Linked DNA regions of Homo sapiens: regions 1, 3, 4 and 5 are each linked to region 2. Evidence: promoter capture Hi-C in 16 types of primary human blood cells and fetal thymus (Javierre and others, 2016). All regions are on one chromosome and are shown on one strand. Each heading gives the region's core, a stretch centred on a gene start or on the middle of the fragment in contact. The rest is flanking DNA. Distances are from core to core; before and after follow the strand shown.

Region 1 (4,637 bases), core at 99-2,598, 160 kb after region 2:
GACAATAGGTTAAGAGGTTGGAAAAACATTTACCATTTTAACACTAATGAAAAGAAAGCTAGAATGAATATATTAACACCAGAGAAAGTCAATAAAAGATACCAGGAAATGAACAAAGAACAATTAAAACAAATAAATGGGTAAACAGATGATCACTCTTTGTATTATTACATTTAATTACATTATGGATGTAATAATATCCAGTATTATTTTCCTTTCTGGATAACGTAATAATATCCAGTATTGTTTTCCTTTCTGAAGATCTTTCTAAACATTCTTTTATAACTTGAGTCTGTTCTTGGTGAATTTTCTTCAGATTTTGTATGTCTGACAGGATCTCTCTCTTCCCCGCAAACTCCAAAGATAGTCTTGCTGAGCATCTAGTTTGAGCTTGACTTTCAAAAAATTTAAGTACAAGTTGAGCATCTCAAATTCAAAAATACAAAATCTGAAATGCTCATTATACATTTAATTACATTAAATGTAATAATACAAAGACGCTAAATGAAATTGTAAGTGTGGTTATAAAACATGAACCAACTATATGTTGTCTATAAGAAACCCATTTCATATATAATAATAAAGGTACATTAAAAGAAAATGGATGAAAAAAGATATAGCATGAAAACACAAATGAAAAGAAGCTGGGATGGCTACACTAACAGAAAAAGTACACTTCAAAGCAAAGAAAATAACCAGTGACAAAGAGCAACACTACATAATGAATAAAAGGGTTGGTCAACCAAGAAGGCACAGAAGGCATAACAATCCTTGGAGACTTCAATACCCCCTAGTTACTACCACACAGAAAATCCAGCAAGGATATAAAGAAATGAATAATATCATCAACCAGTAGAATCTAACTGACATTTTCAGAACACTTCTCCCAACAAGAGCAAAATACACCTTCTTTTCAAAGACACATAGAAAATTCATCTAGATAGATAACATCCTGGATCATAAAACGCAACAAATGTAAAACAGCTGAAATCACTTAAGAGTACATTCTCTAGCTATCACGAAATTACACTTGAAATCAATAGAAAGACAATAGGAAAATATGTTGGAACACTTATAAATTCACACACTTTTAAAACAATCCACAGGTTAAATACCAAGTTGCAAAGGAAAAAAGTAGACTAAACTGAATGAAACAGAAAATACAGTGTAACAAAACTTGTGAGATGCTGCAACTTATTTCCTAGAATTATGATTAACCAAAGTCTATGAGCTAATGTTTATTAAGAAAAAAAAAAGTAAATGAGTTCTAAGTATTCAGTTACTATGGCAATACTTCTAGGAAATAAGTTGAAAATACTCTCTGATATTTTCCTTAAAATATTTCTGGGAAAATATACAAAAGTTTAGAGAAAGGAGAAGCTCACTGATAAAACACAACATACATACATCAGGTCATGCAAAACTAAAGAATTCTCTCCACTAGTTAGAAATGCACAAAATCATAAATCCCTTTTTCAACTTAAATGACCCATGCAAACCAAATCTAGGCAACAACTCTATCACAGCAAGTAAGGCTGAGAATATTTATTTCAAGACAGTCTCAGACTTGTGTTAATGAGTCTAGAAAAATTCCTATATCCACTCAAGGACTATATAAATATCCCTTCATGAATATAAATAAAAGTAGAAAACTACAAGTTCAAGGAACAGTTTTACACCACAGCAGTCCTCTGGAGAATTAGGAAATTAATCTCCTTCAGGAATAAATTTACATCAAAGTCCAAAAATATTTCAGAAAATATCTTAATTCATAATCTTCATACAATGAAAGGACACTTAATCTTTGGGAAATTTTGATGGAAACAAAACATAAGAGGTGTCTCAAGTAAGAAAAAGTATCAGGGGGCCGGGCGCGGTGGCTCACGCCCATAATCCCAGCACTTTGGGAGGCTGAGGTGGGTGTATCACCTGAGGTCAGGAGTTCAAGACTAGCCTGGCCAACATAGTGAAACCTCACCTCTACTAAAAGTACAAAATTTTTCAGGAGTGGTGGTGTGCATCTATAATCCCAGCTACTTGGGTGGCTGAGGCAGGACTGCTTGAACCTGGGAGGCAGGGTTGCAGTGAGCTGAAATCACGCCACTGCACTCCAGCCTGGGGCTGAGAGGTGGGACTCTGTCTCAAAAAAGAAAAAGGAAAAAAAAAAAAAAAGAAGAAGAAAGAAAAGAAAAAGTTATCAGCGAAGAGGATCAAATTAGTAAAAGAAACTATCTAAATGATTGCCAGGAAGCCAGGGTAGAGTAACTACGTATGTATATGTCTCACTATCTTGAATCTAACAAAGGAGGAAAAAAAAAACACCAAACTTAAGAAAACTCCACCTCTAACAAAACTGGCCACCAATCTCTATCAGAGCCTCTAGAATAAATGTGCCAGACATATGGAAATGACCAAATTAAAGTAGGGTGCTTAGATGTTACAAACGTATTCCCAACATTCAAGTAAACACAAATATTAGAAAACAAAAGCTCATCTTAATTTGCTGAAAACCAACAAAGACAAACCAGCTTTTTCTTTAGGAATATTAGGAAAAATCTTGTTGGGGATCCATTTCTACAGCTTAAAATACATACGGCATGGGTCATGTAGCATTTTTACTTATTCATATTTCAACAAAATGGCTCTGAGTTGAGAGCCTTTTAATTGATGGGCAAGTTGAAAGTGCAGAAAGAGTAGCGCTGACCCAACACATACCTGAATCCAGCTGACCTAACTAATGTCATACCTCTCCCCTACAAAATAATTATACACATACTATTATAATTATGTCCCAGGTATCCAAGTTAAATTCTAAAGCAATAATTCTTATAGTGCCCAAGTTATGAGAGAATTTTCTAGGTTTATGTAATGTTATATATCCTTTTTTTTTTTTTTTTTTTGAGAGATAGGATCTCACTCAGTCGCCCAGGCTGGAGTGCAGTGGCGTGATCATGGATTACTGCGGCCTCGACCTCCTAGTCTCAAGCGATCCTCTCATCTTAGCCTCCTGAGAAGCTGGGGCTAAAGGTGCAAGCCACAACACCTGGCTAATTTTCCTTTTTTTTTTTTTTTTTGAGATGGGGTCTCATTCTGTCACCCAGGCTGGAGTACAGCGGCGCAATCTCGGCTCATTGCATCCTCCACCTCCCAGGTTCAAGTGACTCTCCTGTCTCAGCCTCCTGAGCAGCTGGGATTACCAGCACACACCACCACACCTGGCTAATTTTTGTATTTTTAGTAGAGACAGCGTTTCGCCATGAAGGCCAGGCTGGTCTTGAACTCCTGACCTCAGGTGATCCGCCCACCTCAGCCTCCCAAAGTGCTGGGATTACACGCGTGAGCCACCATGCCCGGACTACACCTGGCTAATTTTTTAAAATATTTTTTGTAGAGGTGGGTTCTCATGTTGCATAAGCTGGTCTCAAATTCCTGGGCTCAAGCAATCTTCCTGCCTCAGCCTCCCAAAGTGCTGGCATTACAGGTGTGAGCCACTGAGTCTAGCTTATTGTCCTATATCTTAACAAGGGTTTGAGATACACAAGTGTATATATTTGTCAAAAATCAGTAAACGAGTGAACACTTCCAGAATGGTGGCATAAGGACTTCCAAGAATCCACTCACTGATGAAAGTAATGAGAATGCCTGAAAAAACTGTCAAAATCAATCAGCAGCAAACATTTATCATTAACAGCTGTCTGAGGCAATGAAAACAGTTGGAGAAAACAAGAATCTGACCAAAAATATACAAGGAAAAGCTGGGAAATGCGAGGTCTGCAGGGTTTTGTAAAAGCTTCAACATATTCACTAGACTCAATAATTAGGTCATTTCCACGTGCAGAACTAAACACATGTTCAAGAAAGAATTGAGAAGGTCCTAATAATGACTCACCTCTAGCTTACCTTGAGGTTCACTACAAGCAAGAAGTTAAAGTAAGGCAGAGTTGTAAACTCTGCAACAGAGCACTAAAAACATACCCCACTATGCACACAGAGCCCCTCAGCAAAAGCTGGGAGACTTAGTGGTTCAAGGCACTTAAGATAATGTTTGATCACTAGCTGACCACAAAGCTAACTAATCAGAAACTTCAAGGGTAACACAAGGATACAGACTTAACAGAATTAGTTCAGGGAAGCCATTACATAAACAAACAACAGATGCAACAAGTCTTGGGGAAGGGGGTGGCATCAGATTTCCAGAGTTGCTACATTATATTATTATAATATGACCAGTTCTCAATAAAAAATTACAAGCCATGCAAAAAGATATTAAAGTATGGTTCACACACAGGAAAAAGAACAGTTGGTAGAGACTGTGGCAGAAGAAGCTCGGCTATTTTAAATATATTCAAAGAACAGAAACCATGTCTAATGAACTAAAAGAAAGTATAAGAAATGTATTTCACCAAACAGAGAGTATCAGTTGGGATAGAAATTATAAAAAAGAACTGAATAGAAATTCTGGATTTGGAAAAAACAATAACCAAAATGAAAAAATCACTTAAGAGACTCATGAGCAGATTTGGGTTGGCAGAAGAATCCATAAACTTGAAGGTAGGCTGATTGAAATTATTTAGTTTGAGGAACAAAAAGAAAAATGAAGAAAAAAGAACAGACCTGTACTATAGAACACCATCAAG
Region 2 (4,715 bases), core at 298-2,797:
TCCCCCTGTCTTTAACGGCCATTCTCTCCCACAATCTCTAGAGAATCTCCAAATCTAAGTTGCGGGGAGGGATGCTGGGGAGCCACACTTTTAAGCAAAGTGTTCCTGAGGTTTTAGCTTAGACATCTACAAAACTGGAAGATTCCGTTTTATGGGGACATACGGACAGAACTCACTCGTTTTAGAACACTACTTAGCCAAACCTCTCAGCGAATCCTATACGGAATAGTCTTTAGCAGTATACATTTTGGAATCTTCTGTGTGCCCCAGAACACACAATATGGATCCAATTAGATTCAGCTGCCTTATGTTACAAACAAACATTGAAAGGGAGAAAACAGAAGTGGGAGTGGGAGCTTTGTTCATCCTCTCCTACGCCCCCGCGACCCCACACTCCCGAGGCGCGCGCATCCTCCCCACTCACTCGGGCAGCACCCACTCCCTAAATAGCCCAGCGTGGCCGGTGCCCCGCGAGCGCTCGGAGCGCTTTTCCGCTGCGGGCTTTTCACCGGATCTGGAAGGGATTTACCGGAGGGACTGGAGCCCAGCGCAGCAACCCCACCCCACCCCCACCGCCCCGGCCCGGGCGCGCCCCGCCCGCTCCCCGGCTCCAGGACTTACACCAGCGCCGACGGACAGGGCATCTGGTTCCAGGCACAGTTGTACTGAGCCTGAATAAAACTCTCACTTCCCTCCAGCACGGAGCAGCTCACATTCTTGTTCACGATGTAGGCGCACCAGTTCCTGGGGTGCAGGAGAGAGAGGGAGAGGGGCACGGGGTAAACCCGGAGAACAATGAGGCCAGGGGAGAGGGGACTGCGGCACCAGACCGAGCGAGGGTCGGGGGGGCCCGTCGCCCTCTGCGGAGGCGGGAGCTTCACCGAGCAGACGCCGGAGGGTGCCCGGGTGCGCCTCTGGAGAGCGCGCGCCTGGACCCGACCAAGACGGGAAAGAAAAGCACCCATGGTCCCAGGGGCTCATGGAATTCCTGGGAGTCGTTTTCGGATCGCCCGGGTCTGCGGGACGCTCTCTGCGCCCACGCCCCCGGAGTCAGCTCTGCCTGAGGCGCCGGCTGCGGAGCGCGCGGTCCCCCGCAGAGGGAGCCGCCCGGGGAAGTCCAAGGGAGGCCCCCGGCTGCCGCTCGTCGTCTTTGGCAGGGCAGCTCTGGGGCTCAACTGGGGGCCGGGGAGGGGTAGGCGGTTTGGGGCCAGCCAAGGGGCGCGCACTTACTTGTTCCTGGCGCTGGGCCGCGCGGGATACCCGGGCTGCGGGCCGGCGTGGCACAGCCCCGCGCCAACCAGGGCCAGCAGCGCCAGCGCCCAGCGCCAGGGCACGCGGGGCCAGGGCCGTCTGGGCTGCCACATCCCGCGCGCAGCGGGCGCGCCCCGCCTGCCCGGGTCCGGAGCGCGGCGGATCGGGGCACCGGCCACAAGGCTGCCGGCGGCCAGGGCGCCGCCCGCGAAGGCAAGAGGCTCGGGCGCTTCGCGGCGCTCCAACCAGTGCTCCGCGGCCGCCCCCTCCGGCTTCTCGTTCCTACTTCTCCTTCTGCAGCCCCGTGCGCCCTGCGCTTCTCCCCGGTCCCTCAATGACGCACAGGTCCCCCCGGGTGCCGCCCTCTTTATTTCACTTCCCTCTCCGAAACGTGACTCTCCCCCCACCAAGTCTCCCCGTCTCCAGTCCCTTCGCTTCTCGGCAGGGGGCTCGGGGTGGAGGGGCGAAAGGGTTTGGGATAAGGGTCTACGTTACAGCATTTCCAATGACTCATTCCTTTGGTCTCTTCCCAGATGCCGAGCGACTCCGCCTCCCACCTTCCGACAGGCTCGCTCCCGGCCCCCCGGGACGCGGCCGCCGTCGGCGAGTCTGGCCGTCCTCGCGTCGTGCCTGGGTGCCAGCCTCCCGGGGCGAATGAGGGACATGTTTATCAGTCCCGCGGGGAGAGGAGTGGGGGCTCGACTCGAATTTCCTCCTCGGGCAAGACAGGGCCGTTCCCCCACCAGCTCCATGGACCTAGAGAGTCCAGGAGGAAACGAACGCTGGTTCTTTCTTTGCCCAACTCTGCCTTAGGCACCATCTGACAGTTTCCGAGGCCACGCGGGGGGCGGCAGGACAGGACAAGCCACAGCCCCGCCAATTCCCAGAGGCTGCTGCAGCTCAGCGTCCGGCTCTATCACTTACTGCAATTCTCCTCCAATTCTTGAAAGGTGATCTCACAGCCTCTGCTTCTGAGGTCCCACTGTGAACTTTCTTTTTCTATTGAAACTAAGGCATTTACTCACGTTTGCTTCTTAACAGTTCAGGCACTGCTAGACATCCGTCTTAAACTTTCTTGTATGTTTTCTGCCTGTTGTTGAGTTACACTAATCTCTACCGATGTCTTTTTGGGATGAAGTACCAGAATGTTAAGTAAAATCACCACCCAAGTGTTGTATTCTAAGGGGTGTTGGAGAGAGCTGTGTGTTTGAGATGACCTGCTGCATCTAATCAATGTACAGGGTCGTGAGTGGCGTGGTTACCAGACTCCACAGATAAAACTGTGGCCTCTGTGAGCTAACCAGACGCTGTTGGCCATGACTCGTTAAGTGAATAAAGCTTTGCTATGGGCCAGGCGGGGTGGCTCACGCCTGTAATCCCAGCACTTTGGGAGGTCGAGGCGGGTGGATCACCTGACGTCGGGAGTTCAAGACCAGCCTGACCAACATGGAGAAACCCCGTCTCTACTAAAAGTACAAAAAAAAAAAAAAAATTTGCCGGGCACGGTGGCACATGCCTGTAATCCCAGCTACTTGGGAGGCTGAGGCAGGAGAATCGCTTGAACCAGAGAGATGGAGGTTGCAGTGAGCCGGGATCTCACCACTGCACTCCAGCCTGGGCAAAAAGAGTGAAAATCTGTCGCAAAAAATAAAAAATAAAAACGTTTGCTATGTTCCTACTTTACTAAATGAAGCCATTGGTCTATTTTGTTTCTAATATTCTTTGATGGTGTTGTTGGACCTTTTGATTTGCAGATGAAAGAAAGAGAAGTCCCTAAGTAGAAACTACAAGGGCCAAGCAGAACATTATACCATGTAAGGACATCATCTGTCCCTGGACTCTTAAGCGGAAGATCATGCAAATAGTGGACTGAAGTCATCCCAGCCTTCAAAAGAGCCACCGTGGGGGGGAAATAACAGAAAGGGATAAAAAGCTGTCTTTCGTAACCCAATCTGTATCTTTCTGTGTGACTTCCCTATCCTGCCTGTCCTAACACCATCTTGGCCGTAAAGACTCATAGAGTAGAAACAGAGTATAGAAATGAAGAAGAGGAAGAGGGGGGGAAATGGGGGAAACACACAAGTTGTGTGTGTCTACAATTAGCAGAGAACAACTCCAATGTGTGTCTGGTACAGGTAAATCTCAAACTTGAAAGTGCATTGAACTGATCAAGTCAATCTGTTTTTTCCGTCAAATCAAAGTTATAATAGGAAGTTGTCTAAGAGTATAAGGGCCAACTTGTCATTGAGATGACCACAATACTATATTTAATCAGCTATCAATAACATTTATTGGTAAATAAATTTCATTCTGAGCATCTGTTACAAGCTAGGCATTGTGCAAAAATACTGAGGATTCATGAGTGAGCCCAAACTGACACGGGGCTTGTGTTTGGAGAGCTTCCAGGCATTGCCATGCAATGAAGGGTGTTAGCGTTCCTGATGGACAGTCAACTAAGTGAGCTAATGTTTATTGCATGTCTTTCTCTAGACATAAGCCCATGTATGTTATTGTGGGTCTGCCCCTGGAAGACAGAACATTCTTGACTTTCAGAAGGTTACTTCCCTCTTTTGTATTTTTATTTATTTATTTGGGGGAAAGGGTCTCACTCTGTCACCCATGCTGGAGTCCAGTGGCATGATCATGGCTCACTGCAGCCTCGACCTCCCAGGCTCAAGCAATCCTCCTACCTTAGCCTCCTGAGTAGCTGAGACCACAGGTGTGTGCCATTACACTCAGCTAATTTTTTGAATTTTTGGTAGTGATGGGATCTCACCACGTTTCCCAGGCTGGTCTTGAACACTTAATCTCAAGCCATCCTCCTGTCTTGGCTTTTTAAAGTGCTGGGATTTCAGGCATGAGCCACTGTGCCCGGCCTATTATTCCATTCTTTTACTTTTTTGTTTTTTTTTTTTCTCTTGAGATGGAGTCTTGCTCTCTCATCTAGGCTGCAGTACAGTGGTGCAATCATGGTGCACTGCAGCCTCGATATCCCTGGGCTCAAGCAATCCTCCTGCCTCAGTCTCCTGAATAGCTGGGACTACAGGCGCACACCACCATAACAGGCTGATTTTTTGTATACCATCACAGCTCACTATAGCCTCCAACTCCTGGGCTCAAGTGATCCTCCTACTTCAGTCTTCTAAGCAGCTAGGAGTACAGGCACACACCACCATGCCCAGCTAATTTTTTATTTTTTGTAGAGATGGGCGGGGGGGTCTAACTTTGTTGCCCAGGTTGATCTTGAACTCCTGGTTTCAAGCAATCCTCCTGCCTTCGCCTCCTAAAGTCTTGGGATTACAGGCATTAGCCACTGTGCCCAGCCACAAGGTTATTTCTTGATTTGAGGCCAAGATCCCAAGAGACCCTCTTTGTTTTCTCTACTCCAGCTGGAGGAAGGGATGCAACAAACTCAGGAACCAGAGAGCCCTGCATAAGAAACAAGACAGAGGGAAGCTTCCGGA
Region 3 (4,581 bases), core at 454-2,953, 150 kb after region 2:
AGATGTGTTTTTGCCAACCATTCTTCACCCTGTTGGGAGAGAATACAGAAATCTGTATTCAAGCATAAGGTGCTATACACTTGTTTGATGCCTGCCTCTAGGGCAATGAGGAGGTAAGACAATCTCCCCATTACATGCTTTCGCAGAGGACAGTCTGTAAAGTTACAGAACTCCATTCCTTCTTACGTACCTTATACCATAATATACCATTTCCAAAGGAAAGTAAGGCAAAATTAAAAATAATTTCAGCCTAAGTTTTTGATGCTTGCTGTCAAGAAGGATACTATCTTAGTTATTAATAAATTTGATTTTTTTAAAGTTATATGAATGAAAAAGGAAATATATATACATGGTAAAGACTCACAGGTCCAATATGGTATACAGTTTCTGGGAAATTGCTGCCACACTTACTCCTATAACTAGGTACCAACTCTTTCCCAAATCAGCAAATCATTGTTGTCAGTTTGCCAGCTGACATGGAGATTAAATTAGTAACTAGGAACCAGAAAGTCTGACAACCAAAATGTTAAACTACCCTTCTAAAACTCTCAGGATGGATTCACTATCAACCAAACAAATTACCAAATGCATTAATTCCAGACACTCAGTAACAGTCAAAGTACAATTCAGAAGGCATGTCAAGGTGACAGGTAACCTAGGGGAAAAGTATGCAGATATTCACTTTATAATATTCTTTCAACTTTTCTGTGTATTTGAACATTTCCTTCTTTTTTTTTTTTTTTTAAATACAGAAGGTGTCTCACTGTATTGCACACGCTGGTCTTGAACTCCTGGCCTCAAGCCATCCTCCTGCCTCAGCCTCTCAAGTAGCCAAGATTACAGGTGTGAACCATTATGCGCAGCTTGAATGTTTCAAAATTAGAAAATATATATTTTAAAAGTACAGTGTAACAAAGGAATAGAATTAACTTATTCTGGATAGCTTTTGAAAACACCCACTGCTCAATAAATGTTGGATAACTAACACCATATTATAAATGAATTCTAAGTGTATTATAAAGGAGTAGTAACTCATTTTGATAAGGTCTTTCTCGGTGTATAATTCTTAAAAGTGTCCTAATCTTCTATGATTCACAAGCTTTATAAGAGCAAAATTAATTTCAACATCTTACAGGACTGACTGACTACAAATACTATGTACTATGCACTGTATTTATTGCCCAGCAATAAATTGATAATAAAATCATCTATTTCTTGGCAATTCAACATTAAACTACTGAAAGAGTAGTATCAAAAGTCTCTGAGGTCTGTTCACAGAATACAAGTACACTAGTATACTAGTTTCACTCAACTTTGTAACAAATTTCAAAGTGAAATCATTCTTGTTGTATTAATCAATACATGTATTTTAATACTGATCAATCTCAAATCACCTTTTAGCTCAAAGTACTTCACAGTTTTACCCCATTTTTACCCTCAAGACTAGCTAAAAATTGCACAACTAGGTTATTAATATACAAATATAGCCCTTAAAGCAAATACAATTGTTCATACATGTTCTCATTAAGATGCTTCTGTGGCTTCTACTATGTCAAGGGCTAGATATTAAGATCTTGGCTGGGTGCGATGGCTCATGCCTGTAATCCCAACATTTTGGGAGACCAAGGCAAGTCGATCACCTGAGGTCAGGAGTTCGAGACCAGCCAGGCCAACATGGTGAAACCCCATCTCTACTAAAAATACAAAAATTAGCCAGGCGTGGTGGCACGCACCTGTAGTCCCAGTTATTTGGGAGGCTGAGGCGGGAGAATAGCTTGAACCTGGGAGGCAGAGGTTGCAGTGAGCTGAGATTGAGCCACTGCAATCCAGCCTGGGAAACAGAGTGAAACTCCTGTCTTAAAAAAAAAAAAACAAAAAAAACTAATGAAGATATGTAAATTCTATCCAAACCTAGTCTTTACTAGGTAGGTTTAGTCATTACTAAAAAATTAGCTTTAAATTTTTTAGTAATGTGAACACTTGACTGCTCATAAAAAAATTTATACATCATAGTCTTTTGATGCAAAATATCAATAAAAACCTACACTGCTAGTGTCTTCTTTTACTTAAAAATAAAACATTTGCAAATATTCACAACTTTATATTTAAAAATCATACCTGTCCATTTAAAATCCTTGTAAAAAGGGTGTTCTTATCTTTCAATTTTAGCTCAAGATCCATAAACGTCAATTTATTTGTGCTGACCTGGAATTTGTCATTAGTGAATAATGCACCAGATATCCTATTGTAGCATTCAATTGGTGCAAGCCCTCTCTTCTTAGGAGGAGTACACCAGTCAAAGCTTGAACAGAACAAAATGTTAGTTAGTAAAAGAATTAAGTTGTAAAAACATAATTTCAGCAAAAATCAAACTTACTCTTCAACTGATGTATATGGTATTAATCGTCCATTCCAAAAACATTCAAAAATAGGCCTTTTCCCTCTAGCTGCTTTCTCAAGTATGAAACAATCATCTTCATCATCTTCATCTTTTAATTCTAGATCAAAAGGGCAAATGGAACAAAATGTTTATTGCTAAAATGTGAGAAATAATGAAACAAACACATAAATGTTTCAAATTGCATTCTATAAAACCTAAAGGTAGTTTTATACTGTTTGCCCACAAAAAGGTAGGTTTACAAAGTGGTTCCACATTACGAATGCTGTCTGTCATTTAGAAGTCAATAATTACTTATATATGAACCAATGTACTAGCTGCTGGGCCTGTCATCTTTAAAACCTATTCATGAGGCTAAAAGAGTCTTACATCCAAAAAGATTATCCCCTATAACAAAATCCCTCCTTCCTACAAATATAGGAGCTTAAATCCCGTATCTAAAACAGTTTCACAATTTTATCAGAACTAGTATGTTCACATGAAAGTCATCTGAGAAATCTATGACATCTAATAGCAGCGAGTTTACCTAGTTTGAACAAATTAGTGAATGATGCTAAAATTAAGTTTACTTTTTAGAAATTATTTTCAGATTCAAGTAAGCATGAAAAATGTACACAGAACTGTAAGACATGTTACTATGCATCAAGAGCATTAATTTGCACAATTGTCTATAATCTTATGTTTATTAGCAACACACTCTCGTGTATCCAGATAAATTAGGATTAAACAATGTGATCCTGACATATTAACACCTCAGCTACCCTGGAATTAGTTTACCCACCTAAAACAAAACCTTCTCCCTAAAAGCCCTCACAAGAAGTCCCTTATATAAAAGCTGCTTTCAATCAAACAAAATCACTTTGCTCTTAGAGGAGAATCCCTCTGATTGATCACTCAACTTACTTGCTCTTCTTTTTAAGGCAGCATTTGAAAAAAATTATATCTTTTTGTCTATTAGCACACAAAAATTGGAAACAGCAAATTTAAGAGGTCAGAGATGGCCAGGCACAGGGGCTTACGCCTGTAATCCTAGCACTTTGGGAAGCTGAGGTGGGAGGATTACCTGAGCTCAGAAGTTTGAGACTACCCTTGGCAACATGACAAAACCTTGTCTCTAATAAAATACAAAAAATTAGCCTGGCATGGTGGTGGGCACCTGTAGTCCCAGTTACTCAGGAGGCTGATCCATGAGAATTGCTTGAACCTGGGAGGCAGAGACTGCAGTGAGCCTACATTGTGTCACTGCACTCCAGCGTGTGTGGCAACGCAAGACTTTTGTCTCCAAAAAATAAAAAACAAAACCAAAAAGGCCAGTGGAGCCACTGAGTAACAATATGTACTGGGCAGGAGCACTTAATAAATAGTGTTGAGCACTATTCTGAGAAGTTGCCCCAGTTTTTAAATTTGATCTTCACAACACCCCTATGAGGTGTGAACTACCCATTTCCCAGGTAAGGAAACTAAGGCAGGGAGTAGTTTGTCCAACAGAAAGTGGCAAAGATGGGATTCGAATCAGGATCTCTGGTTGCAGGCCCTAGAAAACCAAGAATGTACTAAGGAAGTATTCTGAATGAAAAAGTTTAATATTGTTAACCTATAAATTCAATGCAATCCCAATAATCTCACTAGAATTACTTCAAGTGAATGTACAAAGCTGATTCCAAAATTATCTAGAAGAGCAAAAGTATTCTCAAAAAGGAACAATAGTGAAAATGTTTTTTCCCAAAGATACCAAATTACAAGATAAAGCTACAAGACAGTATCATTACTCATATTAAAAAAAAATAAAATAGTACTTTATAGTAAAGAATCTAGACCTATGTACTTATGGGAACTTTGTATTATACAAGTTCTAACTCTTGGGTAAATTATAACATTCAATAACTGGTGCTAAGAAACTGAATATGAATACCACATAGAAAATAATTGTTAAATCCCTATCTCTCTACTGGGGGGGGAAAAAAAGGTGGGGGCCAGGTGTGGTGGCTCACACCTGTAATCCTAGTACTTTGGGAGGCCAAGGCAGGAGGATTGTTTCAGGCCAGGATCTTAAGACCAGCCTGGGCAACACGGCAAGACCCCATCACTCAAAAATTTAAATAAATAAATAAAACCCCACCTTGCTCTACATACAAAAAAGAAAAACACAGATGCATTGACCATAAAATGACAACAAAAACAAA
Region 4 (4,637 bases), core at 1,378-3,877, 130 kb before region 2:
GACGTTGTATTTGGATATATGAGAGTGGCTGCAGTTGCTTTCTTCTGTGATCATAAACAAGAATTTTTGTAAGCTTGAAGTATGTGGGGAAAATATAAATTGTATGAACTTCTTTAATCCAGAGTTTTCTCTCTTGTTACAAAATATAACTTAGAACAAGTTATGTAAGCTTAGTGTAAGTCCCAGAAATCTGCATTAAAGAAACAAAATCAAGTGACTTGAGGACAGTGTAACTCTACCTGTGGAAGCTTTCCTTTAAAAATAATAGGAAGGAAACACTATTTTCAAGGTTATTTTTTAAAATTAAGGATGGATATTTTTATGAAAACAAGCATAAAATCAGTGAGACAAAAATTAGTTTCTAAAATCTGTGGCTCATAACTTGATTTTAGTTTTAAGGTTATACAAATGTTTATTATCTTTAAAAATGTTATCACACTCTGCTTTTTGCTTTTGGATCTGTTAGTGAAAGTGTACTTACTCAGAGTTCTCAGGAACTAATGGAAAGACGTGGTTTGAATATGAATGGAAGAGTCAGGTGCTACCACGGGGGAGGCAGTTTGCTTTTGAAATCAACATTGTAATATTATAGAATGTATACACATATTGGCTCACTCACATTTGTTGTAAAGGTCAGAAGGGAGAATAGAGAACCTTGCTGACTTTTTACGAAATACTTTAAACATTCATATATTAAGTAGCACTAACACACATAAACTCTCCCTCACAGGAAGTTCTTAAGACTTGTGTCTGCTGGTGTTTTCCAGAAAGAGGTCAAGAGGTGTTTGCTTAGGCTGCATTTTATTAACGGTCCCATTTTATGTTGCCGTTAGAACATTGAAGTCTAATGAGTCACCTCCCTGTCCCATGAGAAGCATGAGTTTTCTTAATGCTAACGTTTGGGATAAGGATCTGATATCTGCTTAGTAGCCTGTAATGATTATATAGGAGTTTGACTTTATAACCTGGGTGTGTGTGGTTAGAGGGAGAACCCTGGTTTTCAGGGTCCAGGCCTTCTGTGACCTGAACACTCCTTACAAATCACATCCTTTCTGGGCACCCCTTTTGTAAGGTGACAGTTTCAGTTTTGAAAGAGTCTTTCCTCATGGTTTTGTGATTTGGGAATATAAATGTATCATATCATGATTTGGAAAACCATGAGAAGATTTCTGTGCTTTGTTAGAAATTGGGAAATTTCAAAGACCATGTTTTCATATTTTTTGAAACAAGTGAAGACAATACCTTTATTTGCTAAGGAAAAAGCTAAATTATTTTATATTCAAATAACCTGAAGTCCCAGAATAATCTACTGGCCATATTTTCACCCCATTTAGGGCAGAATATACTACAGGAGTTCTTAGCCAAACTTGTAATCCTCAGAAATGCTTATAGAATTGGAGCTTTTCTGCAGTTTAGAGCTGGGGGGGGACTCTAGAGGTCACCTGACCATTCTTGTTAGAGAGAACCCCCGGCACAGAGCCCAGACCTCTTCTCCAGCGGAAGCGAGACTTGATCTTGAGTCTTCACATCCTCACCAGCTTCAGGGGACTCCAGGAAGCCCTGAGGGCAGTGTCCCTCAATTCTCATCTCTGTGAGCTATTTATCAAAGGACATGGGCACCTCTGGTTGATGCCAAAAAGCTCAACCAGATTTAATAACACAAACAGTGGTCAGAGGTGGCAAGTCACCCTGTAGGTGGGGCACATGATACGAGGCAGCGTGCATCATGCTAAGTTAGGAAACCTTAGTCCACCCAGGATTTGGGGTGGGGCTGAGGTTGGTGGTGGGGAACCATAACACGTTGTCATTACTGATTGCTGCCCAGATTCCTAGAACAACTGGAGGTGAACAAGTCTAAAACTAACTGTGTTCCTCCAGTCTAGCATGGCCAGTGTTCAAAAAAGTAATTATTTAATTGAGTGGAATTTTATTTCCTCATAGAAATAATGTTGCTATGCCTGTCTCATAATTAGCCAGAGAACTCAACCAGAGTTCTGAGTCCTAGAACAAGGGGGAAGAAGGGCTAATGCAAGAATTTCCTCTTTCTTTCTGGATAAGGGCCAAGTTTCGCTAAAATTTTTGAGACAAACATTTTCTGAGTTCCATTTTCAAGCCATGTTTTAGCTCCCACTCTCCATAGCTAGTAACTTTGGGCTTGAAAATGATACCTTTCCTCCCTCCTAACTCCCCTAAGTTTTAGGAGTGTTTGTGCTCTTGCCACTGAGCTGTGAATGGGTGATGGTTCCTTAAGCGCAGCAGAAGTAGCTGCATTGGAGGAAGAGGATTCTAGTAAACCTACAGGTGTGCTTTGGTAGGCTCACTAGCCAAGTGACAGTGTGCACTGAAATGAAAACTCTGAGGCCTGCTAAGAGGATATATTGAGGGACCATACAAGATTACTGGTTAGGCAGTTTGGGGGAGTAAATTCTCTGAAAGTCTTTGTTTTCAAAGCATGCTCGCCACAGATGAACTCAGGAATTTGGGGGGGAGTAGTTTTGGGACTGTGGACATGAATATGTTTCGGCTATTTGAAAATTATTTATTATTCATTTTTATATTTGTGCCCCCATCTGTTTTCAGTAAGGAAGGATTTAGAAGTAGTTTACAATTAAAACATACATGCACACAGACTGCCTCCACACACACTGTATATTGCATAGCTAAGCCTATTAATGTAGAGGAAACAAAATTGTCTTCATTTAGCAAATATTTATTGTACTACAACTGAGTCCAGTAGATGCATGTAAATCAATTTTTTTTTGTTTGCCTCCACTAATATGTCGGAATTTTTTGCTGCTCTGGGTTTATGAATAACACAGCTGGGCAGATATCCAGCAAATGGCTGTATGAATGCTACCATGTTGAGTTTGCCTGGATACTTGGTCCTGATTACATACTCAGCATACTCAGTGCGTTAGAGTGCCTGGTGAGCCCTGTTTTGTAGATGTGATCCAGGTGTAGTCTTCGTGCATTGGGAAAACACACCTTAGTTACATCACTGTGCCTTTAGGTGTCCCAAAAAGTGAGGCTGCTGGCCTGGCCTAGAGGAGATGGACACAACTCTGAAAGGATCTAAATAAAAATCTCAGTTGGGCATGGTGGCTCACACCTGTAATCCTGCACTTTGGGAGGCCCAGGCAGGTAGATCACTTGAGGCCAGGAAGTGAGGCAGGAAAGGAACAGGAACTACTACACCACCCTTCTTCAGCTCTGTTCACTGTCAAGAAAACAAGAGGGTTTGGGAGTCATTCCACCTACCTGTGGTCCTGAGGCACAGCTTGAGATGTGCTACATTCTGGGATCATTTGGAGGCTTTCAAAAGTACTTGCAGTAGAATCTGCAGATGGGGTGGCCTGATCATGAGGATTCCCCAAGCACCTCAGTGACTGCAACGTGCACCGGGGGTGAGAAGTGAGCCCCAAGGACGATGATGCCCACATCTGACTCATCACTGAGTGAATCCCTGTGGAGCTTTCAAAAGAAAATACAGATTTCCCAGACAGACTGAAGCAGAATTGAAGGCAGTAGTGGAGGCCAAGAATAACTGTTTTGTTTTGTTTTGAAAATGAAACTACAGACTTTATTCAGATTCTTCTTACTAATGTCCTTTTTCTGTTCCAGAGCCCAACCTTACCTTGAATTGTCCTGTCTCCTTAGTCTCTTCCAATCGTGACAGTTCTTTAGTCTTTGCTTCTCATGACCTTGATGTTTTGATGAGCACTGGTCAGATATTTTGTTGAATTTGTCTCTACTTCGGTTTGTCTGATGTTGTCTCATAATTAGATTGAGGTTGTGTGTTTTTGGTCAAAATACCTCAAAAGTCCTTTTCAGTGAGTCATACCAGGAGTCCCTGAGGTCAGTGTGTCTTAAGTTTTCCCGATCACTTGATTATGGTGGTGTCTTCCAGGTTTCTCTACTATAGAGTTAAAATTTTTTCCTTTTGTAATGAATGTGTATCTTGGGGAAAATACTTTGAGAATATCCAGACATCTTGTTTATCTTGTTTCTCCTTCAACTTTTTTTTTTATTTTTTATTTTTTAAAAGACAGAGTCTTGCTCTGTCGCCCAGGCTGGAGTGCAGTGGCGCAGTCTTGGCTCACTTCAGCCTCCGCCTCCTGACTTCAAGCAGTTCTCCTGCCTCAGCCTCCTGAGTAGCTGGGACTACAGGTGCCACCACTCCCGGCTTCTTTTTGTGTTTTTAGTAGAGATGGTTTCATCATGTTGATCAGGCTGGTCTTGAACTCTTGACCTCAGGTGATCCACCTTCCTTGGCCTCCCAAAGTGCTGGGATTACAGGTGTAAACCACCGAGCCCGGCCTCTCCTCAAACTTTGTCTTCTGTTTTTAACATCCATTGATGGATCTTGCCTTCCATAAATAATACTGTGATATATTCCAATAGTGAGTTTCTAGTTTCTTCATTTTTTCTTCATTAATTATAATTCATCTGTAAGAGCTGTCATTTCTCACTTATATATTAATTTATTCTATCAGTGAGGACTCAAGAATATTTTATTCAGCTAATTGTAATCTAGTAATCCTGTTTTGTTGCTCAGATTGTCCTGTGTTTAGCTCTTGGGAGTATACTCCTGTTTTTTCTCTGACATACGTTTGCTCTTTTGATTTTGAGCATTTCCC
Region 5 (4,823 bases), core at 293-2,792, 150 kb before region 2:
CCGCAGGCCAGAGGGCATAAAAACACCCAGAGACTGTAGTGGGTATTTATCAATCCTGGTGAGGCCTCTCCCCACAGGTAGAATCATCTGTAGCTGTGTACACTCATGATGTTGGGGAAGTAGCTGGCACTACGTGCCGTACATCTGATGGAGGGCATGGTGTGTATCCTGCTTTGTGTAGTCGTGCCCATATGGTGATTTTGGAATCCTTTGTGTAGCCTTTAACGTTGTCTATTATTAGCATGTTTCTGTCGTGACTGCCATAGGTGGAGCCCACAACAGTGCAGGTGTTTCTTTATCCTTTGAGCTGGGCACCTGGTGGGAACTTTCAATTTGGAAAATCATGTTTCTGACGCCAGGAAATTTCTTGTATGATTTATTTGATAATATCCAACTCCTGCCTTTCCCTACCTTTTTTTCCTCTCCTGTTTCTGTACTTTAAAAAGTCTACAAGTCAGATATTGGGGCCATTTTGGATTGATGCTCTGATATTCATCTTTTTCCTCCTTTTGCCCATTCCTTTATCCTTGTTGGATTTACTGGGAGATCTGCTTTCTACATTTTCTCCTTCTCCTCCTCCTCCTCCTCCTCCTTCTTCCCCTCCTTCCCCTCTTTCCCCTCTTCCTCCTTCTCCTCTTCCTCCTCCTCCTCCTCTTCTTCTTTTTAAAAGAAAAAAAAAAACAAAACAGAGATAGGGTCTCACTAATGTTGCCCAAGTTGGTCTTGAACTTCCAGCCTTAAGTGATCCTCCCACCTCAGCCTCCTGAAGTGCTGGGATTACAGGTGAGACCCACCGTGCCTGGCTATTTTTTAATTTTTGTAGAGACAGGGTCTTGCTGTGTTTCCCAGGCTGGTATTTATTCTCCAACCCTTCTATAGAATGTCTTAATTTTACAATTGTGTGTTAATTTCCAAGAGCGCTTTCTCATTCTTGGATGTTTATTTTTATTAGCGTCCTCTCCTAGCTGCTGGTGGGTTGCTGGCAGCCTTTGGCGTTCCTTGGCTTGCAGATGCATCACCCCAATCTCTGCCTTTATATTCACATGGCGTTCTTCTGTGTGCATGTCTGTCTCTCTGTCCAGATTTCCTCTTTTTTTTTTTTCTTTTTGAGACGGAGTTTCTCTCTGTCACCCAGGCTGGAGTGCAGTGGCGTGATCTTGGCTCACTGCAAGCTCCGCCTCCCGGGCCATGCCATTCTCCTGCCTCAGCCTCCTGAGTAGCTGGGACTACAGGCGCCTGCAACCGCGCCCGGCTAATTTTTTTTTTTTTTTGTATTTTTAGTAGAGACGGGGTTTCACCATGTTAGCCAGAATGGTCTCGATCTCCTGACCTCGTGATCCGCCCGCTTTGGCCTCCCAGAGTGCTGGGATTACAGGCGTGGGCCACGGCGCCTGGACCAGATTTCCTCTTTTTATAAGGACATCAGTCCTACTGGATTAGGGCCAGCCTTAATGACCTCGTTTTAACTTGAATACCTCTGTAAAGATCCCCTTTCCAAATAAGGTCACATTCTGAGCTACCAGAGGTTAGGAGTTCAGCGTTTCTTTTTTGGAGGATATACTTCAACCCAAACAGTGGGTTTTGAGAGTGGGGATAACACATGTGACATCCTCTGGGTTTAACAGGATGTCTAGTTAGAGCAATATTTTTAAAGATGCTTTTAGTTACACCTATCTTCACTAATGATCAGAAAGAAACTCTTAGGAAGTAATTTTTAGATTACAACTGGAGATTTTTGTTCAGACTTGTGACTGCCAAAATTTCTGCATGTTCCTGAATGTTTAATGACAGTATCTGAGTTGTCTCATTTTCACTCTTGGTTTGTTTCTAAAGTCATTTGAAGGTTGGCAAAATGACTAAAGAAAGAACAGCAGTAGTGTCTTATGAGAAAGTAAACCGTATCTATATCCTGGCATAGTTTCGTGAACATGTTAGCCAGGTTCTCATCATGCTCTGTCCCTCCATGTTATACTCTATTTCTTTTTTCAGATATGAGCCTTCTTGGAGCTTTGTTGCTTAAAAAAAAATCTGTCATGTATTTTCCTGTTCTGGGCTCTACAACGCTTTTCTTTCCTTAAAAGTGGCTCTTCCTGCTCTTCCTCCCTCTCTTCAGGGAGCAGCACCCTCTTTTATTTCCTTTATAATAGTTGTCCCAGCCTAACATATGTTGTTGTTGTTGTTTTCTCCCTCCCCACATTAGAATATAACCACTACAAGGGCAGGTACCTTGTCAGCCAAGTTCACTGCTTGATCCCCAGCTCTCAGAATAGAATAGACACTGCTGTTGAGCAGATCAGTGAGTGAAAGAGGCCTTGTTTTCTGACTTTCAAGTGCTGTTTCGCTGACTTGCTGTTGCTCTTGGAAGTCCTTCTCTCTTGTTGAAGTAGCTTAGTATGCAAGTCAGCTTGTGATAACACACTGGTGCAGCCTTACTTGGCATTTGTTTTGCAAAACTACTTAAAAATAGCCTAAATCTGAGTGATTGGTGGCATTGATTGCAGCAGTGCTGTTGGTATGGCCACAGCCTTTCCCTTTACCCAAGTGTCCTCCCAGAGCCAGGAAAGGGAGGTACCTCTCCTTACGTTTCTGAAGATTCCATTGTGGTCCCAGTGGGCACCATGCAGAATTTAATAAAGCAGGGCATGAAACTTGAGCTGTGTTTTGATTGACATTGGGAAAGACTCCTCTGCAGAACACAGGCACAGGGTGCCTGGAGCTGCCTGGCACTGGAAACTCTGCCTCACGGTCACCATGTTCTGTTTAACTGAGACAAGGAGACACTTCAGGCACTTCCAAAGGAAACAGTAGGGAAGTAGTGAATTCATGCTTACCGATCTAGCAGACTTCCCTCTGGGAAGCTGGGGGACTGCATCCTTGAGAGCTAAAAGCAAGAAATTGGAGATGTTTGAAAAACTAAGTCTGTGGCATGGGGGGTAAGGAATCCTCCTGCTACTTCTGTGACATCAGCTAAGTAAGCTGATGAATTGGTGACTTTTTGTTTCTTTTTGAGTTATACTGCTTTTAGTAATTATGGAAGAGCCTGCTCTCCCCCCACAGGAGTCATTAAACAATGATTGATGCCATATGTAAGGTTTGTGAATTGTTTATGCAGCAGAAGTCACCTTTTGATCAGAATTGGGGCACTGTCTTGGTTTCATTGTGGCACACTGCAGAGTTATAGGCATAGTGGCCTGGTACTCTGATGATGTCTTGAAAGTGACTGCTATAGCTTTGACTTCATTAATGTTCCTTTGAATTTGTTATGTTTAGAAAAATACAAGCCTCTGCCAGGTGCAGTGGCTCATGCTTGTAATCCCAGCACTTTGGGAGGCTGAGGAGGGTGGATCACATGAGGTCAGGAGTTCAAGACCAGCCTGGCCAACAGAGTAAAACCCCATCTCTACTAAAAAAAAACAAAAAACAAAAATGAGTCCAGGCACAGTGGCTCAAGCCTGTAATCCCAGTACTTTGGGACACCAAGGCCGGCGGATCACCTGAGGTCAGGAGTTTGAGACCAGCCTAGCCAACATGGCAAAACCCCGTTTCTACTAAAAATACAAAAATTAGCCAGGCGTGGGGGTGGGTACCTGTAATCCTAGCTACTCGGGAGGCTGAAGCAGGAGAATTGCTTGAATCCGGGAGGTGGAGGTTGCAATGAGCCGAGATCACGCCACCGCACTCCAGCCTGGGTGAGGGAGTGAGACTCTGTCTCAAAAGAAAAAGAAAAATACAAGCCTCCAAAAATGAAATGTACATATTTATGATGTGTTGATTCTGGCACCTCTTATGCAGAAGTTTACCATTAGCAAATATAGCAAACTTGGTGCCATTGGCAAGGCCTTTGTAGAACCAAATGATGCTTTATTTGGAGATGGTGGGATGTGGGTCTGTTATTCTGGGATATATATGATACTCAATAGATAGATAAAGATATTGGTCGAGCGTGGTGGCTCACGCCTGTAATCCCAGCACTTTGGAAGGCCGAGGTGGGTGGATCATGACGTCAGGAGATCGAGACCATCCTGGCTAACACGGTGAAACCCCGTCTCTACTAAAAATACAAAAAATTAGCCAGGCGTGATGGTGGGCACCTGTAGTCCCAGCTACTCGGGAGGCTGAGGCAGGAGAATGGCATGAACCTGGGAGCCGGAGCTTGCAGTGAGCTGAGATGGCGCCACTGCACTCCAGCCTGGGTGACAGAGAGAGACTCTGTCTCAAAAAAAAAAAAAAAAAAAAAAAAAAAAGATATTTTCCTGGGAGGTAAGCATGTAGTCATATCTTTTCTGCAACGTCACCATGCCTGTTGAAATGGAGAGGTTGGATGATGTAATTGATGGACATTATAAAAGAACCAATGTAACACTTTTATTTTTGGGATGAAGTCTTGCACTGTCACCAGGCTGGACTGCAGTGGTGCGATCTCGGCTCACTGCAACCTCCCACTCCCGGGTTCAAGCTATTCTCCTGCCTCAGCCTCCCGAGTAGCTGGGATTACAGGCATGCACCACCACGCTCAGCTAATTTTTTGTATTGTTAGTAGAGATGGGGTTTCACTGTGTTGACCACGATGGTCTCAATCTCCTGACCTCATGATCCGCCCGCCTCGGCCTCCCAAAATGCTGGGATTATAGGTGTGAGCCACAGCGCCCGGCCGTAACATTTTATTAATAAGTCTTAAGTTTGTCCATAGAGCTAATTACCTCTAATTCTTCAGTTTTGTCCTCCGTTATACACATGTAATAAGGAAGCTTGGTACCCTGCTTAAAAAATGTGACTGTGAAGGAATATGACCAGAAACTTACACAATGAAATGTACTTTGCAC

Evidence for each region. Contacts are between HindIII fragments. The CHiCAGO score rates a contact against its expected background, and 5 or more counts as called.
Region 1: a fragment that was not itself captured here is called in contact with the fragment with the promoter of EMILIN2 in region 2 in 1 of 17 cell types (monocytes); the score reaches 10.2 in monocytes.
Region 3: a fragment that was not itself captured here is called in contact with the fragment with the promoter of EMILIN2 in region 2 in 1 of 17 cell types (monocytes); the score reaches 8.7 in monocytes.
Region 4: a contact is called between a fragment that was not itself captured here and the fragment with the promoter of EMILIN2 in region 2, in 2 of 17 cell types (monocytes and M2 macrophages). The highest score is 8.6, in monocytes.
Region 5: a fragment that was not itself captured here is called in contact with the fragment with the promoter of EMILIN2 in region 2 in 1 of 17 cell types (monocytes); the score reaches 6.9 in monocytes.

What each region holds. Positions count from the first base shown.
Region 1 is chr18:2,679,850-2,684,486 of GRCh38, reverse strand. All of the region lies in intron 5 of SMCHD1 (structural maintenance of chromosomes flexible hinge domain containing 1), which reads right to left. Among named protein-coding and RNA genes, the nearest start is that of SMCHD1, 26 kb to the right of the region's middle. The HindIII fragment of the contact is 4,888 bases long and covers 1-3,792 here.
Region 2 is chr18:2,843,838-2,848,552 of GRCh38, reverse strand. It overlaps EMILIN2 (elastin microfibril interfacer 2), which reads right to left and starts at 1,547. Exons shown (of 8, transcript NM_032048.3): 1 at 1,231-1,547; 2 at 622-744. The coding sequence starts at 1,364. RefSeq lists silencers at 570-659, 1,280-1,329. The HindIII fragment of the contact is 11,570 bases long and covers 1-2,591 here.
Region 3 is chr18:2,698,456-2,703,036 of GRCh38, reverse strand. It overlaps SMCHD1 (structural maintenance of chromosomes flexible hinge domain containing 1), which reads right to left. Exons shown (of 48, transcript NM_015295.3): 11 at 2,378-2,498; 12 at 2,119-2,302. Among named protein-coding and RNA genes, the nearest start is that of SMCHD1, 45 kb to the right of the region's middle. The HindIII fragment of the contact is 1,203 bases long and covers 1,102-2,304 here.
Region 4 is chr18:2,977,592-2,982,228 of GRCh38, reverse strand. The region is part of intron 1 of LPIN2 (lipin 2); the gene reads left to right. LOC124904236 (a long non-coding RNA gene) reads right to left here and starts at 3,874. Exons shown (of 2, transcript XR_007066268.1): 1 at 3,259-3,874. The HindIII fragment of the contact is 4,754 bases long and covers 251-4,637 here.
Region 5 is chr18:2,995,889-3,000,711 of GRCh38, reverse strand. All of the region lies in intron 1 of LPIN2 (lipin 2), which reads left to right. Among named protein-coding and RNA genes, the nearest start is that of LPIN2, 15 kb to the left of the region's middle. RefSeq lists enhancers at 844-1,766, 1,881-1,980, 2,248-2,397, 2,468-2,567. The HindIII fragment of the contact is 6,417 bases long and covers 1-4,750 here.